5 separate regions of the Homo sapiens genome follow, and regions 1, 2, 3 and 4 are each linked to region 5. Evidence: promoter capture Hi-C in 16 types of primary human blood cells and fetal thymus (Javierre and others, 2016). All regions are on one chromosome and are shown on one strand. The core of a region is centred on a gene start or on the middle of the fragment in contact, and the rest is flanking DNA. Distances in the headings are between cores, read along the strand shown.

What was found. The method cuts DNA at HindIII sites, captures the fragments that hold promoters and counts their contacts. A CHiCAGO score of 5 or more calls a contact.
Region 1: a fragment that was not itself captured here is called in contact with the fragment with the promoter of SELENON in region 5 in 8 of 17 cell types (non-activated CD4 T cells, naive CD4 T cells, activated CD4 T cells and 5 more); the score reaches 13.3 in non-activated CD4 T cells.
Region 2: a contact is called between a fragment that was not itself captured here and the fragment with the promoter of SELENON in region 5, in 13 of 17 cell types (naive CD4 T cells, naive CD8 T cells, activated CD4 T cells and 10 more). The highest score is 15.0, in naive CD4 T cells.
Region 3: a fragment that was not itself captured here is called in contact with the fragment with the promoter of SELENON in region 5 in 4 of 17 cell types (naive CD4 T cells, non-activated CD4 T cells, activated CD4 T cells and 1 more); the score reaches 8.2 in naive CD4 T cells.
Region 4: a contact is called between a fragment that was not itself captured here and the fragment with the promoter of SELENON in region 5, in 6 of 17 cell types (non-activated CD4 T cells, naive CD4 T cells, total CD4 T cells and 3 more). The highest score is 9.2, in non-activated CD4 T cells.

The regions. Positions count from the first base shown.
Region 1 is chr1:25,629,063-25,631,778 of GRCh38, reverse strand. The region is part of intron 1 of MAN1C1 (mannosidase alpha class 1C member 1); the gene reads right to left. Among named protein-coding and RNA genes, the nearest start is that of MAN1C1, 14 kb to the right of the region's middle. The HindIII fragment of the contact is 6,918 bases long and covers 1-2,716 here.
Region 2 is chr1:25,580,726-25,583,425 of GRCh38, reverse strand. It overlaps a transcript of LDLRAP1 not described here. Among named protein-coding and RNA genes, the nearest start is that of MAN1C1, 35 kb to the left of the region's middle. RefSeq lists an enhancer at 1,028-1,876. The HindIII fragment of the contact is 5,056 bases long and covers 1-2,700 here.
Region 3 is chr1:25,668,005-25,670,704 of GRCh38, reverse strand. The region is part of intron 1 of MAN1C1 (mannosidase alpha class 1C member 1); the gene reads right to left. Among named protein-coding and RNA genes, the nearest start is that of MAN1C1, 53 kb to the right of the region's middle. The HindIII fragment of the contact is 2,626 bases long and covers 13-2,638 here.
Region 4 is chr1:25,648,689-25,651,421 of GRCh38, reverse strand. The region is part of intron 1 of MAN1C1 (mannosidase alpha class 1C member 1); the gene reads right to left. Among named protein-coding and RNA genes, the nearest start is that of MAN1C1, 33 kb to the right of the region's middle. The HindIII fragment of the contact is 1,907 bases long and covers 369-2,275 here.
Region 5 is chr1:25,798,817-25,801,558 of GRCh38, reverse strand. It overlaps SELENON (selenoprotein N), which reads right to left and starts at 1,366. Exons shown (of 12, transcript NM_206926.2): 1 at 1,146-1,366; 2 at 399-516. The coding sequence starts at 1,328. RefSeq lists a silencer at 1,502-1,641 and an enhancer at 1,451-2,172. The HindIII fragment of the contact is 6,547 bases long and covers 1-2,742 here.

The sequences.
Region 1 (2,716 bases), core at 77-2,576, 170 kb after region 5:
CCTCCCTAAATCATTCTACGAAGCCAGTATCACTTTCATAACAAAACCAGGAAAGGACATAACAAAAATAAGGAAAACTACAGACCAATGTCCCTGATGAATACAGATGCAAAAATCCTCAGCAAAATACAAGCTAACAAAATCCAACAGCACATCAAAAATGTAATACACCATGATCAAGTGGGTTTCATAGCAGGGATGCAGGGATGGTCTAACATATACAAGTCAATAAATGTCATATATCACATAAACAGAATTAAAAACAAAAACCATACGATCATCTCAATAGTTGCAGAAAAAGCATTCAATAAGATCCAGCATCCTTTTATGATAAAAAAAACTCTCAACAAACCAGGCATAGAAAGGACTTATCTCAAAATAATAAAAGCCATATATGACAAACCCATAACCAACATCATACCGAATGGGGAAAAGTTTAAGGCATTCCCTTCTAAGAACTGGAACAAGACAAGGATGCCGACTTTCACTACTTCTATTAAACATAGCACTGGGCTGGGTGCGGTGGCTCATGCCTGTAATCCTAGCACTTTGGGAGGCTGAGGCGGGTGGACTGCCTAAGCTCAGGAGTTTGAGACCAGCCTGGGCAACATGGCAAAACCCCGTCTCTTCTAAAAATACAAAAAAAATTAACCAGGCGTGGTGGTACATGCCTGTAATCCCAGCTGCTCAGGAGGCTGAGGCACAAGAATCACTTAAATGCGGGAGGCGGGGGTTTCAGTGAGCCAAGATCGTGCCACTGGACTCCAGCCTGGGCGACAGAGCGAGACTCTGTCTCAAAAACAAAAACAAACAAACAAACAAACAAACAAAAACATAGTACTGGAAGTCCTAGCCAGAGCAATCTGGCAAGAGAAAGGAATAAAGGACATCCAAATTGGGAAAGAGGAAGTCAGACTATCACTGTTCACAGATGATATGACTGTATACCTAGAAAATCCTAAAGATTCCTCCAAAAGACTCTTAGATTTGATAAATAAATTCATTAAAGTCTCAGGTTACAAAATCAGTATATACAAATCAGTAGCACTGCTATACACCAACAACAACCAAGCTAAGAATCAAGTCAATAACTCAATCCCTTTTACAACAGCTGCAAAAATAAAATAAAATAAAAAACTTAGGAATATACTTAACTAAGGAGGTGAAATTTCTCTACAAGGAGAACAACAAGACACTGCTGGAAGAAATCACAGATAACACAAACAAATGGAAACACATCCCATGCTCATGGATTAGAAGAATCAGTATTGTGAAAATGACCATACTGCCCAAAGCAATCTACAGATTCAATGCAATCCCAAACAAAATAACAACATCATTGTTCACAGAATTAGAAAAAATAATCCTAAAATTAATATGAAATTTTTAAAAAGAGCCTGAATGGCCAAAGCAAACCTAAGCAAAAACAACAAATCTAGAGGTATCACATTACCAGACTTCAAATTGTACCACAAGGCTATAGTTACCAAAACAGAATGGTACTGATATAAAAGTAGGCACATAGACCCATGGAAAAGAATAGAGAACCCATAGATAAAGCCAAATATTTACAACCAACGGATCTTTGATGAAGCATATAAAAATATTTATTTTTTAAATAGGGTAAAGGGCACCCTATTTAATAAATGGTGCTGGGAAAACTGGCTAGCCACACATAGAGGAATGAAACTGGATCCCTATCTCTCATCTTATACAAAAAAAACTCAGGATGAGTCAACGACTTAAATCTAAGACCTGAAACCATAAGAATTCTAAAGATAACATCAGAAAAACTCTTCTGGACATTGGCCTAGGCAAAGACTTCATGACTAAGACCCCAAAAGCGAATGCAATAAAAACAAAAATAGATCAATAAATGGGATCTCGTTAAACTAAAAAGTTTCTGCACAGCAAAAGTAATAATCATCAGAGTAAAAAGACAATGCACATAATGGGAGAAAATATTTGCATACTATATATCCAACAAAGAACTAGTGTCTAAAAACCACAAGAAACTCAAATCAGAAAAAAAAAAAATCAATTAAAAAGTGGGCAAATGGCTGGGTGCAGTGGCTCACACCTGTAATCCCAGCACTTTGGGAGGCCGAGGTGGGCAGATCACCTGAGGTAGGGAGTTCGAGACCAGCCTGACCAATATGGTGAAACCCTGTCTCTACTAAAAATACAAGAAATCAGCCAGGCATGGTGACACATGCCTGTGATCCCGAGGTAGGAGAATCACTTGAACCTGGGAGGCGGAGGCTGCAGTGAGCCAAGATCGCACCACTGCACTCCAGCCTGAGTGACGGAGGGAGACCCTGTCTCAAAATAAATTAATTAATTAAGTAGGCAAATGACATGAATAGACATTTCTCAAAAAAGATACACAAATGGCCAAGAAACATATGAAAAATGCTCTACATCACTAATCATCAGGGAAATGCAAATTAAAACCACAATGCAAATTAAAACCACAACCTTACTCCTGCAAGAATGACATTACTAAAAAGTCAAAAAACAATAGACATTGGCATTGATGTGGTGAAAAGGGAACACTCATACACTGCTGGTAGGAATGTAAATTAGTACAGCCTCTATGGAAAACAGTATGGAGATTCCTTTAAGAACTATAAGTAGATCTACCATTCGATCCTGCAGTCCCACTACTGGGTATCTACTCAAAGAAAAAGAAGCCATTACATGAAAAAGACACATG
Region 2 (2,700 bases), core at 38-2,537, 220 kb after region 5:
AGGTCAGAAGTTCGAGACCAGCCTGGCCAACATGGCGAAACCCCATCTCTACTAAAAAAGTATAAAAAATTAGCCAGGCATGGTGGCAGGCTCCTGTAATCCCAGCTATTCGGGAGGCTGAGGCACGAGAATCACTTGAACCTGGGAGATGGAGGTTACAGTGAGCTGAGATGGCTCCACTGCACTCCAGCCTGGGCAACAGAGTGAGACTCCACCAAAAAAAAAAAAAAAAATCCCCAAAAAAGCCAAAGGAAAAAAAACACCTCACCTACAGAGGAGCAAAGATAATTATATCCAACTTCTCAGAAACCATGCAAACAAAAAGAGAGTGGAATGGAATTTTTGTTTTTTTTTTTGAGATAGTCTCACTCTGTCCCCCAAGCTGGAGTGCAGTGGCACGATCTCGGCTCACTGTAAGCTCTGCCTCCCGGGTTCAAGTGATTCTCCTGCCTCAGCATCCCAAGTAGCTGGGACTACAGGCCTGCGTCACCACGCCTAGCTAATTTTAGTATTTTTAGTAGAGACGGGGTTTCACCATGTTGCCCAGGCTGGTCTCGAACTTCTAACCTCAGGTAATCCGCCCACCTCGGCCTCCCAAAGTGCTGGGATTACAGATGTGAGCCACCGTACCCGGCTCATTGTATACTTTAAATGAGTTGTATGATATGTGAATTATATCACAATAAAGCTGTTATTTTTAAAAGGATGGGGATTCAAGTCTAAGGTGATGAAAAAGTTCTGGAGATAGACAGTGGGGAAGGCTGTACAACAATGTCAGTGTATGTAATGCCATTGAACTGTATACTTTAAAAAGTCAAAATGGTAATTTTTTTTTTTTTTTTGAGATGGGGTCTCGCTCTGTCGCCAGGCTGGAGTGCAGTGGCACGATCTCGGATCACTGCAACCTCCACCTCCCAGGTTCAAGCGATTCTCCTGCCTCAGCCTCCTGAGTAGCTGGGACTACAGGTGCATGCCACCATGCCCAGCTAAGTTTTGTATTTTTAGTAGAGACGGGGTTTCACCGTGTTCGCCAGGATGGTCTCGATCTCCATATCTAGTGATCTGCCCGCCTTGGCCTCCCAAAGTGCTGGGATTACAGGCGTGAGCCACCACGCCCAGACCATTCTACCATAATTTTTTGAAATAAATTTTAAAATAGAGCGGGGGAAGTATCTTAGAACCAGATAATGCATCCCCAAATATTGGAGTCAGTGGGCCAAGGACGTACCAACTCAGTCAATGTCTGATGAAAGAATGAAGAGCTTCCCTTATTTGAGAGACAAGAAAACTGAGGCCCAAGGGGAAGCCATGGCACTGCCCAGGGCTGCACAACAGGGCCAAGGCAGAGATCAGGACCAGAACCCAGATAAGTTCCACCCCTGGGAAGCCCAGGCCTGCGCTGGGTGGGGCTGGATTTCACCAAGCCCCTCCCCCAGCTGTGCACATCTGTCCATCTCAGCGGGATGAGGCCGTTGCCCAGGAAGCTGGCCAAGGACTCAAACATCCAGGACAGAACAACAGAGGCGCTTCCAAGGGGCAGTATTGGCAGCCTCATGCTTGAACCTGAGCCCTACGGGGCTGCCCCCTCCTGCCTGGCTCTGGGGGCTGTATTCCTAAGGCCACACTTTGTCTCTTTACCCCAAATCCTCCTACCTCAGCAGGAGTACCGGGATGCGGTCCAGGTCAGCTACTGCCTGGGGGAGGCACTCAGCAGGTCCCTGCCCCTCCCGGGGTCTCCATTTCCCCTTCAGCATAGTCAGGTTTCATCCAGCTCTGCCGGTCCCACTCCTCAAATCTGCGCAGCCTTTGCTGACACTGCTGTCTTGGAACACTTAGCCCTTCAGGTGCCCTAGTTGGAGGGAAGAGACGCCCTGCCGTTAGAAGCCTCAGCCCAAGGTGGGAGACAGGGCCCTGCACACAGGAGCTCCCGATGTGTCAGAGGAGCGAGAGTTCTGCCCTTCAGAGCTTCCAGCCTGAAGAGGGAAACAGACCACCCCGGATTCAGCAACTCCTGGTCTGATGGGGGAGACCTGAACCATCACAGGAGTCTCCTGTGTCAGTGCTTGGGCCCTGTTTGGTATCTCTCTTTTTCAGAAACCCTCTCCTCTCCCTGGCTCAAGAGGCCAGGGGCCCATACCTACCTCTCTGCTTCTCAGAATTCAGCTGCCCTCCTAGTTTACTCAGCAGTGCCCCCGCCCCAGGCTGCTGGCTACAGCAAGCATCACGACAGAATGCCCATGTGCTGAGGCCCGGCAGAGAACACATGTTCCTCACACCCCATTTGCTTTTGGTGAGAAGCTCTCCAGCCCAGCACGGCACCCTCTTGGTCCAGGACCGGCCCCCAAGCAGGCCAATGGCAGTAACATCTAGAATTAGGAAGTACTCAGTCTAGACAGGCCCTTCCTGCTTTTGCTAAGGCCAACAGACTAAGGCTGGCCTCAATTTAGGGAAACTCCTCCAGAGCCTGGTTCTGAGCCTTCCGGGATTCATGGTGTCCTGCCGGGTTCTCACAGTACCCCAAAGCCTGGGGTTACTACTGATGAAGAAACTCAGAGCCTGGTCCCCATCTATAAAATGGGGTTGATAAAAGCAACACCTCTTGAAAGATAATTGTGGGCCAGGTGCAGTGGCTCACACCTGTAATCCAGCACTTTGGAAGGCCAAGGCAGGAGGACTGCTTGAGACCAAGAGTTCGAGACC
Region 3 (2,700 bases), core at 76-2,575, 130 kb after region 5:
ATTCAGAAAGCTTTGTCTCTTCCATCTCACCAGGCTGCTCTACTGTCTAATGAATGAACCAACACGACATAGACCCAGCACCTCTGGACAGCATGTGGCACACACAGCATCAAACGAAGGCCGGCTGCTGCCCTGTGCCTGGCTCAAGTGGCCCATCCTTATGTCTGCTTCTCTTTGAAAATGAGAAATGTCCAAATTCCCACCCCCTGAAGGCTCAGTCTGCTAGAAGGAATGGATGACCTGCTTTAAAGCTGCCCCAGCAGAGCCTGGAGCCTTTGGAAACATGAAAGAGGCGGAACCAGTTCTTTTACCCAAACTTTAACAATTTTTTTTTAAAGAAACAGGTTTAAGTGAAAACAAAGAAAATACCAATGCAAGTGGCAGAGAGATCCTGCAAGGCACATGGAACGCAGGAATCTCCAAGTGCTGGTTTCCCAGGGAGGTGATACTATTTGAAATCTGGAAGTTCAGCCTTGATAATCTCCATCTAAAGACTGCTTAGTGGCGTCTCTGCATCCACAAGGGGATTTGGGTGATGGGTTTCAGAGCCTTTGGGGCTTACAGGGAGGCCCTGGGCCAAGCACAAGAACAAAGGCTCCAGGAGGGCAGGAGTCTTGTTTTCCAGGCAGTGTTGTCATTTCTGGAGAAACCAGCTGTGGGCATAGACTGCTTTGGAAATCCATTTAGAATCATGTGAAACCATCTACATTTTCTGGTAGTTCTACATTTTCTGGTAGTTCTTGGAACCGAAAGAGGATCAGCAACATTCTCCTGACAGATTCCTTTCCTGGACTCAAGAAGGGGGCCTGAGAACTACCAACATTCATGGGTAGTAAAGGGCCTTGTTTCTTGTCCTGTGAAAGGATTTCAGTTAAGAACTGGAGAATAAGCCAGTATTTATTTGTATCTGTGTATTTTTAGAGACAGAGTCTTGCTCTGTCATCCAGACAGGAGTGCAGTACAGTGGTATGATAGTAGCTCACTGCAGCCTCAAACTCCTAGGCTTAAGTGATCCTCTCACCTCAGCCTCCCTAGTAGCTGGGACTTCCAAGTAGCAGGTGTGTGCCACCACACTTGGCTGATTTTTACAATTTTTTTTTAAAAAAGATAGGGTCTCGATACGTTGCCCAAGCTGGTCTTGAACTCTTGGCTTCAAGTGATCCTCCTGCCTCGACCTCCCAAAGTGCTATGGTTAAAAGCACAAGCCAGTGTGCCCGATGGTGCCAGTATTTATTGAGCACCTCCATGTACCAGCCCTTTTGCCAGATGTGATCACATATTTTATCTCATTTAATCTTCCATTGCTACTCCCAGAAGCAAGTATTGAGCCCATTTTATAGATAAGAAAACTGAGGTTCAGAGCGGTTCAGTAACAATTCCAAGGACACACAGCTAACTGTGTGCCCAAGAACTGAATACACCTTCTCTAGGTCTGCTGCTCTGATTTCTAACAAGAGACCAGAATTTTCTCATTCCTATGCTGCCTCCAGATCTGGGACTTCCTGCTGGGGCCTGTAAACCAGCTACAGGAAACGGCAGCTCCCGTCAGTGGGCAAAACAGACCTTGCCATACGCAGGGCACAAATGAACCCACGGCCCATGACAGGTGTTTCAAAATCTTCACAAAATTCCTCTCTTCCCTGCACTTGCTTTTGAGGTACAACTATGGGTGATGGTGGCTCACCCGGACTCTTTCAAAATTTCAGAGACAGGCCCTTTCAGTTTCTCCCCATAAAAGAAAGGCCTAGCTGAGATTTCTGTCGCTGATGGCTGTATGCTTTGTATAAAGGAGGAAACCATCAGGTTTTCTCAATTCTGAGCACAGCAGCTGAAAAGTAGAAGGCTTGGGCAGGGTGCGGTGGCTCACGCCTGTAATCCCAGCACTTTGGGAGGCCGAGGCGGGTGGATCACGAGGTCAGGAGATGGAGACCATCCTGGCTAACATGGTGAAACCCCGTCTCTACTAAAAATACAAAAAAAAATTAGCTGGGCATCATGGCGGGCGTCTGTAGTCCCAGCTACTCGGGAGGCTGAGGCAGGAGAATGACGTGAACCCAGGAGGCGGAGGTTGCAGTGAGCCGAGATCGTGCCACTGCACTCCAGCCTGGGTGACTGAGCAAGACTCCGTCTCAAAAAAAAAAAAAAGAAAGAAAGAAAAGTAGAAGGCTTGGATTCAAACCCAGGTCTGTCCGATTCCAATCTCTGCATGTTAACCGTTCTTTTCTCTACCTCTCCCCACCTGACATCCATTCAGAAAATATTTACTGAGCATCTACTATGTACCCCATGTTCTAGTACATATGGGAGTAAACAAGATAGGAATGGCGGCTGCCTTCATGGCCTCTACATCCTAGTGTGGGGAGGCAGCCAGCAGCCAGCAGGAGAATTCTGAATGGTGACAAGCACCGTGAAGGAAAGTCAAGCAAGGTAAGGGGGTGGGGGATAACTGAGTGGGTGGGGTGGCCAAGGAAGGCCTCCCAGATGACAGCTGAGCTGAGAACTTAATAAATATCTGAAAAAAATGCACCTCGTTTCCCATTTATAGCCTGAGAAATGCATTCGGCTTTTCTTTGTTCCTCCAAGCCCCCATGAGAAGAGATTCCAAAGTACATATTTTCTTTTCTTGGCTAGAAAAGCTTGTAAAACCCACTGATAAGGTTACCAGTTCACCCCAGGAGAGAGAATTCCAAAGCAGTAAAC
Region 4 (2,733 bases), core at 73-2,572, 150 kb after region 5:
AGGGCAATGAGCAGCCCAGGCGCCAGCAACAAGGCAGTGAGCTCAGGAGAGGCTTACAGGCCAGCTGAAGAGCCGTGCAAGGCCAGTGCAGGCCGGGACCAACCAGGGCCTTCCTGCCTGTCACTCAGGGAAGTCTGTCTTTCTGGCCAGCTGAGGCTGGTCACTGTCAGGAGTCTCCAACCAGGGCCAGTCTGCCCGCTTCTCCTCTGGGACAGAAGAAAGTGTGGCAGAGGATTCCCCACTGGTGCTCTAGAATTGCAGTAGCCGTCCCGGGTCCTCAGGATCTGCTGATTTCCAGAACACCTGTTCAGTTGGTGAGCGGCCCCTATTGTGAGTGTTCACCCAGTGGCAATCTCTCCTACCAAGCTTCCACTTACTCACCTTCTCCCCTTCTCCTAAGCCAACCCCCTCCAGGTCTCCTTGGAGGAGTTCTTACTTACTGAATGAATAAGTAAAAAAAAAAGTTTAAAAATAAGCCTGGATAAGAGCAATAAAGCCTCCCTTTAGCCTTTGCTATTAAAACTGATTTGAAATAGGAGAGCTAGATTTTCCAGGTGAGAATTACAGGGTTTGTGGATTAGGGAGACAACCAAGTCTCCTTTATTCTCCTTCTGTAAGGACTAAATTGATATTTACTTGCACAAGCCAAGAGTGAAAGTGGGCAGCCAGCTCTCCTAATAGCCATTTATACATCCAAGTTTGGTAGATTTATCGGTGTCTAAAACAGCAGAAAGAAAGAATGAGAACACACTATGTCAAAGCAAGTTCTCTATTATCCCAAAGAGAATTTACTATTGTTAAAAGCCCTGTCCCTTGCTGGAGAGATTTGGTTAGGCCATGGAGAGGCCACAGAGTCAAGCAGGCCATACCTGGACCTGCTCTCTCTGCGGGGGGTCGTGAGCTCCCCAAACAGGACCCCAAATAACCTCAGAACAACCTCAGAAGCAAGAGTTACGTGGAAGTAGACTGGAGCAGTGGCCACCTGCAGCAGCCTCAGAAGAGCAAACACTGGACACTGTATTTGGTAATAAAAGGCTCTGAACCCCTACGGAGTTGCTGGTACGATTTCCTCAGCTCTTGGTCAAATTTACACACATTCATTAAGGTCACAGCCCAGCCATGAGCCAGATGCCTCGATTAATCCCTTTAGAGCCAGAGAAATAAACACTGGGTAAGAAACAATGTTAAGGACCTGATTTATAAAAGCAAGAAGGACATTGTCTTTTGGCAGAAATGACCTGCTGCTTGACCCACAGTAAGTGGAGACCCACACGCCCCAGTCAGTGGTGCAGAGCTGTGGACATGGGAGTGTACAGAATTTATAGCCCCTGCTTTGAGTGTCAGAAACTGGGTCTGTGCACTGCCCCCTCCCCCAACTTTGGCAACTCAGCCAGGCCAGTGGCTAAAGGTCTTCTCGGGAGCCAGTACAACCACAGACAAGATGGAGCATCCTAGAGTTTTCAATACTAAAAGCAACAAGGCCAGGCCGGGCACGGTGGCTCACTCCTGTATCCCAGCACTTTTGGGAGGCTGAGACAGACGGATCACTTGAGGCCAGGAGTTCCAGACCAGCCTAGCCAACATGGTGAAACCCTGTCTCTATTAAAAATACAAAAATTAGCCAGGCATGGTGGCACACACCTGTAATCCCAGCTACTCGAGAAGCTGAGGCAGGGGAATTGCTTGAACCCGGGAGGGGCAGGTTGCAGGGAACTGAGATTGCGCCACTGTACTCCAGCCTGGGCGACAGAGTGAGACCCTATCTCCAAAAAAGAAAAAGGACTGCTACCCAGCCCCAAAACTGGGGAAAGGCAGCCCAGTGACCCAGTCAAAGGGTCCGCTAATATGGACAAAGGATCCCCTCAGAGACTGCTGGTAAAGTCCAGAAATATGAGGACCTCATTGCCCACAGAAAGGCTCAGTTAAGAAAGTCAAGAGGACAAGTGAAAACAAGAGTGAGGGTGAGGATCAACCTGAGCCTGAGCCGGGAAGACCAGAGGCATCCAACCAGCCTTAGGTCCCACACTGTGGACTCACACCACCACTAAGAAACATTTGGGATTTCCGACACTCAAAAAGTGACTTCGTATTGGCATGCTCTATATGCTGTCACATCATGCCCTTGTCACAAAGACAAAAGCTCTGGTGGGAAACACAAAGCCTCTTCAGAAGCCCTATTCAGCCTGCACTTGCCACAGAGAAATGGTGCCAGGAGTTCTTCTGAGTACTCATGCGTGGCAAGTGCTAGACAGTCCAGGAAGGTACCTTCTAAGCTTCTAGGTGCAAACTCAAATCAAGAAGACCTGGTGTCCTTCCTGGTACGTGCTTGACATAAGTGTTAAGAACAATGCTTGTGAAATTCCTAAGGAAATGTGAGAGACCCAGTCCTGCACACTGATTTGCCTTCCCCTGTTCAGTTGCTGACAGGAAGTAGAAGACAGGTAGTCAGGGAAGAATGACAGTTTGGGGATTAGTGTGATGACTATTAGCCAAGTTCTGCTCTGCTTTTCTTTTCAAAGAAAACTTCCCTTCTCTTTGCTCTTGGAATGCCACGTTAGAAGACATTTCCATGGCAACCACATACACATTTGGTGATGTCTCACTAAATTTGTGTGTGCACAAAGGCACATGAGGAGATTTTTTGAATGTGTAAGAGAAATAGATTTTCATAATTGAATTATGCCCTCAAGTAGAGTTTACCATTTGCTGAAAGCCAGGGCCAGAGCAGAGGAT
Region 5 (2,742 bases), core at 117-2,616:
CCTCCCAAGTAGCTGGGACTACAGGTGTGCACCACCACACCCGGCTAATTTTTGTATTTTTGTAGGGATGGGGTTTTGCCATGTTGACCAGGCTGGTCTTGAACTCCTGGGCTCAAGCGATCCTTCCATCTCCCAAAGTGTTGGGATTACAGGCGTGAGCTACCTCGCAGACCAAAGAATGTTAGCTGGTATTATTGCTCACAAGTCTGAGAAAAACAGGCTCAGGGGTTGCTGGAGCAGCTCGCCCAAGCCACCAGCTACAAAGTGTCAGAGCTGGGAGGAGTCCAGGGCCTCTGAGATCCCACGAGCTTCCCTCCACTCCAGACGGCCGCTCCTGCTCAGTGAAGACACCGTTGGCCAAGGCGCCCTCCTCCCCAGCCGCCAGTCTCTCCTGGTACCTGTTAGCTTCTCAGCAATGGGTTTGAACTCCTCAGGGCTGATGTACATATCCCCGTCAGTGTCCAAGGAGGAAAAGAGAAAAAGGCCATCTGTCCCCAGGGTCTTCAGCGCCAGTTCCTGCTTGGGAGGAGAGACTGGGCTGGGCACCATTTGGCGGCCTGGTCTCCTGGTCCCCAACAGGCAGTTGCTTCCGCATGGAGCCCCTTCTCCCACCATCTTCCTGAGCTCTCCCAGTGCCTCCCGGTCCATCTGTGCAAATGTTGCCTCTGAACTGCCCCAGAGCCTCCAGTCCCTCCTGGTCCCTGCTCATCCACTGTCTGGTCCGACTGCCCCCTCCCAGTTTGTCCCCACTCCGCCTTCCGCCTGGCCCTGGCTGCTTGGCCCTGTTCCTCCTGCACCTTCTGTCCTCTCCTGTGTCCCCTCCTCACTGTCCCAGGGCTCCCCAGTAACCCTTTAAGACTCTGCGGGAACCAGCTTCACTGTGTCCAGGTCACCCCTCTGGATAGAGACCCCTCCAGTCTGTCCCAGCCCCACACTGGCCTCCGTTCGCCTTCCCCCCATCAGCCCGGCCCCAGGCACCCCCCACCCGCCTCCCGTGTCCCCTCCTTCCCGTGCTCCCTCCCGTCCAGTCCCCCTCCGCCCTCCGCCTCCCCCGACTCGTCCATGCCCATGTCCCCCCTGCTGCCGAGGCTGGGTCCTTCAGTCCCCGCTCCCGCGCTCCCGCCCCAGCCAGCTCGGGCCCGGACCTGCCGCGCGGCCGCCTGGGCCTCGGCGTGGCGGGCGCAGACCCGGACGGCGGCGGCAGCGGCGGCGGCCAGCAGGGCTCCGAGCAGCGCCAGGGAACGGGCGCGGCGGCGCGGTGGCGCGGGAGGCTGCGCGGCGGGGCCGGGGCTGGGCGGCCCGCGTTGGCCCGGCCGGGCCCGGCCCATGGCTGCGGCTGGCGGCGGCTGCCGGCGGCCCGGGAAGCGAAAGAGCGGGGCGGGGCCGGGGGCGGGGCGGCCGGGGCGGGGAGGGGCGGGGCGGCCGCAGGGGCTGGGCGGGGGGTCGCTGGTTCCCGGCTTCGCAGCCCGGCCAGAGCCCGGGGCGGGGTCAGCTACACCGGAACGCCAAGAGGGGCTGATCGCGTCTATGCGGTCGGGTCCGTAGTCCCGGCCACCCCAGCCTCCCCAGGCCGCTTCCTGCCTCTCCGCGCCCCTTCCCGTGCTTCCGTTCCCAAAGCTAAGCCAGGCCTCTGCGGCCCACTTGCCTGGCCCAGCCCAGAGAGCGATTCCAGACTGGGGACTGGGACAAAGAAGGGGCTGGGGAGAAGCCACACACCCTGTGCTTTCCTGGAGAAGGGGCGTCGGGGGCCTCTGAGGCCTCGTGTCCTCCTCTGCTGGCAGCCGGGCACGAGGCCAGAGACTGCTGAGGGGCATCCGTCCATCCTTATCCCACCAGTTTTCTAAAAGTTCCTCTGTCATCTAGAGCAAGACAAATTAAAAAGAAAGCCCAGCCCCTGTTCCCCTCATGTGCAGTTGGGGGGCCACCTCCGCAGATGCATGGGTTATGGGGATTGGCCTTGTTCCAGGCACAGCAGGTGCAGCTCTGAACCTGCACTTCCCTGGGCCCAAATTTCCTCATCTCCACCAAGGAGTTAAAAGAGCCCCCCAACCCCCACCCTCCGGGCTCTGGTCTGGTGAGGGGAAGGCGAGGCTCCAGCCCCTCAGCAGCTGGAGCTACCAGAGGCCCTGGCTTTTCTGGAGAACAGCATGCGGCATGCTTGGAGGAGGGCCTTGGAAATAGGGGTGGGTGGTGTTGAGGACATATTTTCATGCCTGTCAATCCCCAGGACCTTGGTTCCTTGGGGCTCTCTTCCATTCTTTCAAAGCCCCCAGTTACCATGGGGTGGCTCTAGATGTCTCTACCTGCATTTTCTCAGGCGAGGGTGGCAGCTGCAGAAGCCTCTAGACAAGAATTCTGAGCCCAGAGGTGAGCAGTGCCTGCCTTTGCAGAGCCCCACCAACCCCCCCAGCGCAGGGGCACCTGTCAGGCCTGAGGGATCCAAAGGATGCTGAGCTCTGCCCATGTGCTGGACTTCAGGTGGGGTGATTTACACATTCTCTCACTCTGTTCTCAAGCCACCTTGTGAGGTAGAGACTGCTTCCCTGGTTTTCAAATGAAGAAGCCTGACCTCTGGCACCCAGGTCTATGGGTCCAAATCTCCTGCCATCCTGCCTCCCAGGCTTCCCACGGGATGACCCGGTCGACTGAGTTGGGGGTGGGGTCCTGCCTCCACTGCCCATCCTGTTCTTCTTTGGTGGCCAGCCATGGCAGCACCAGGTGAGGCCTTCCCAGAGCCCACAC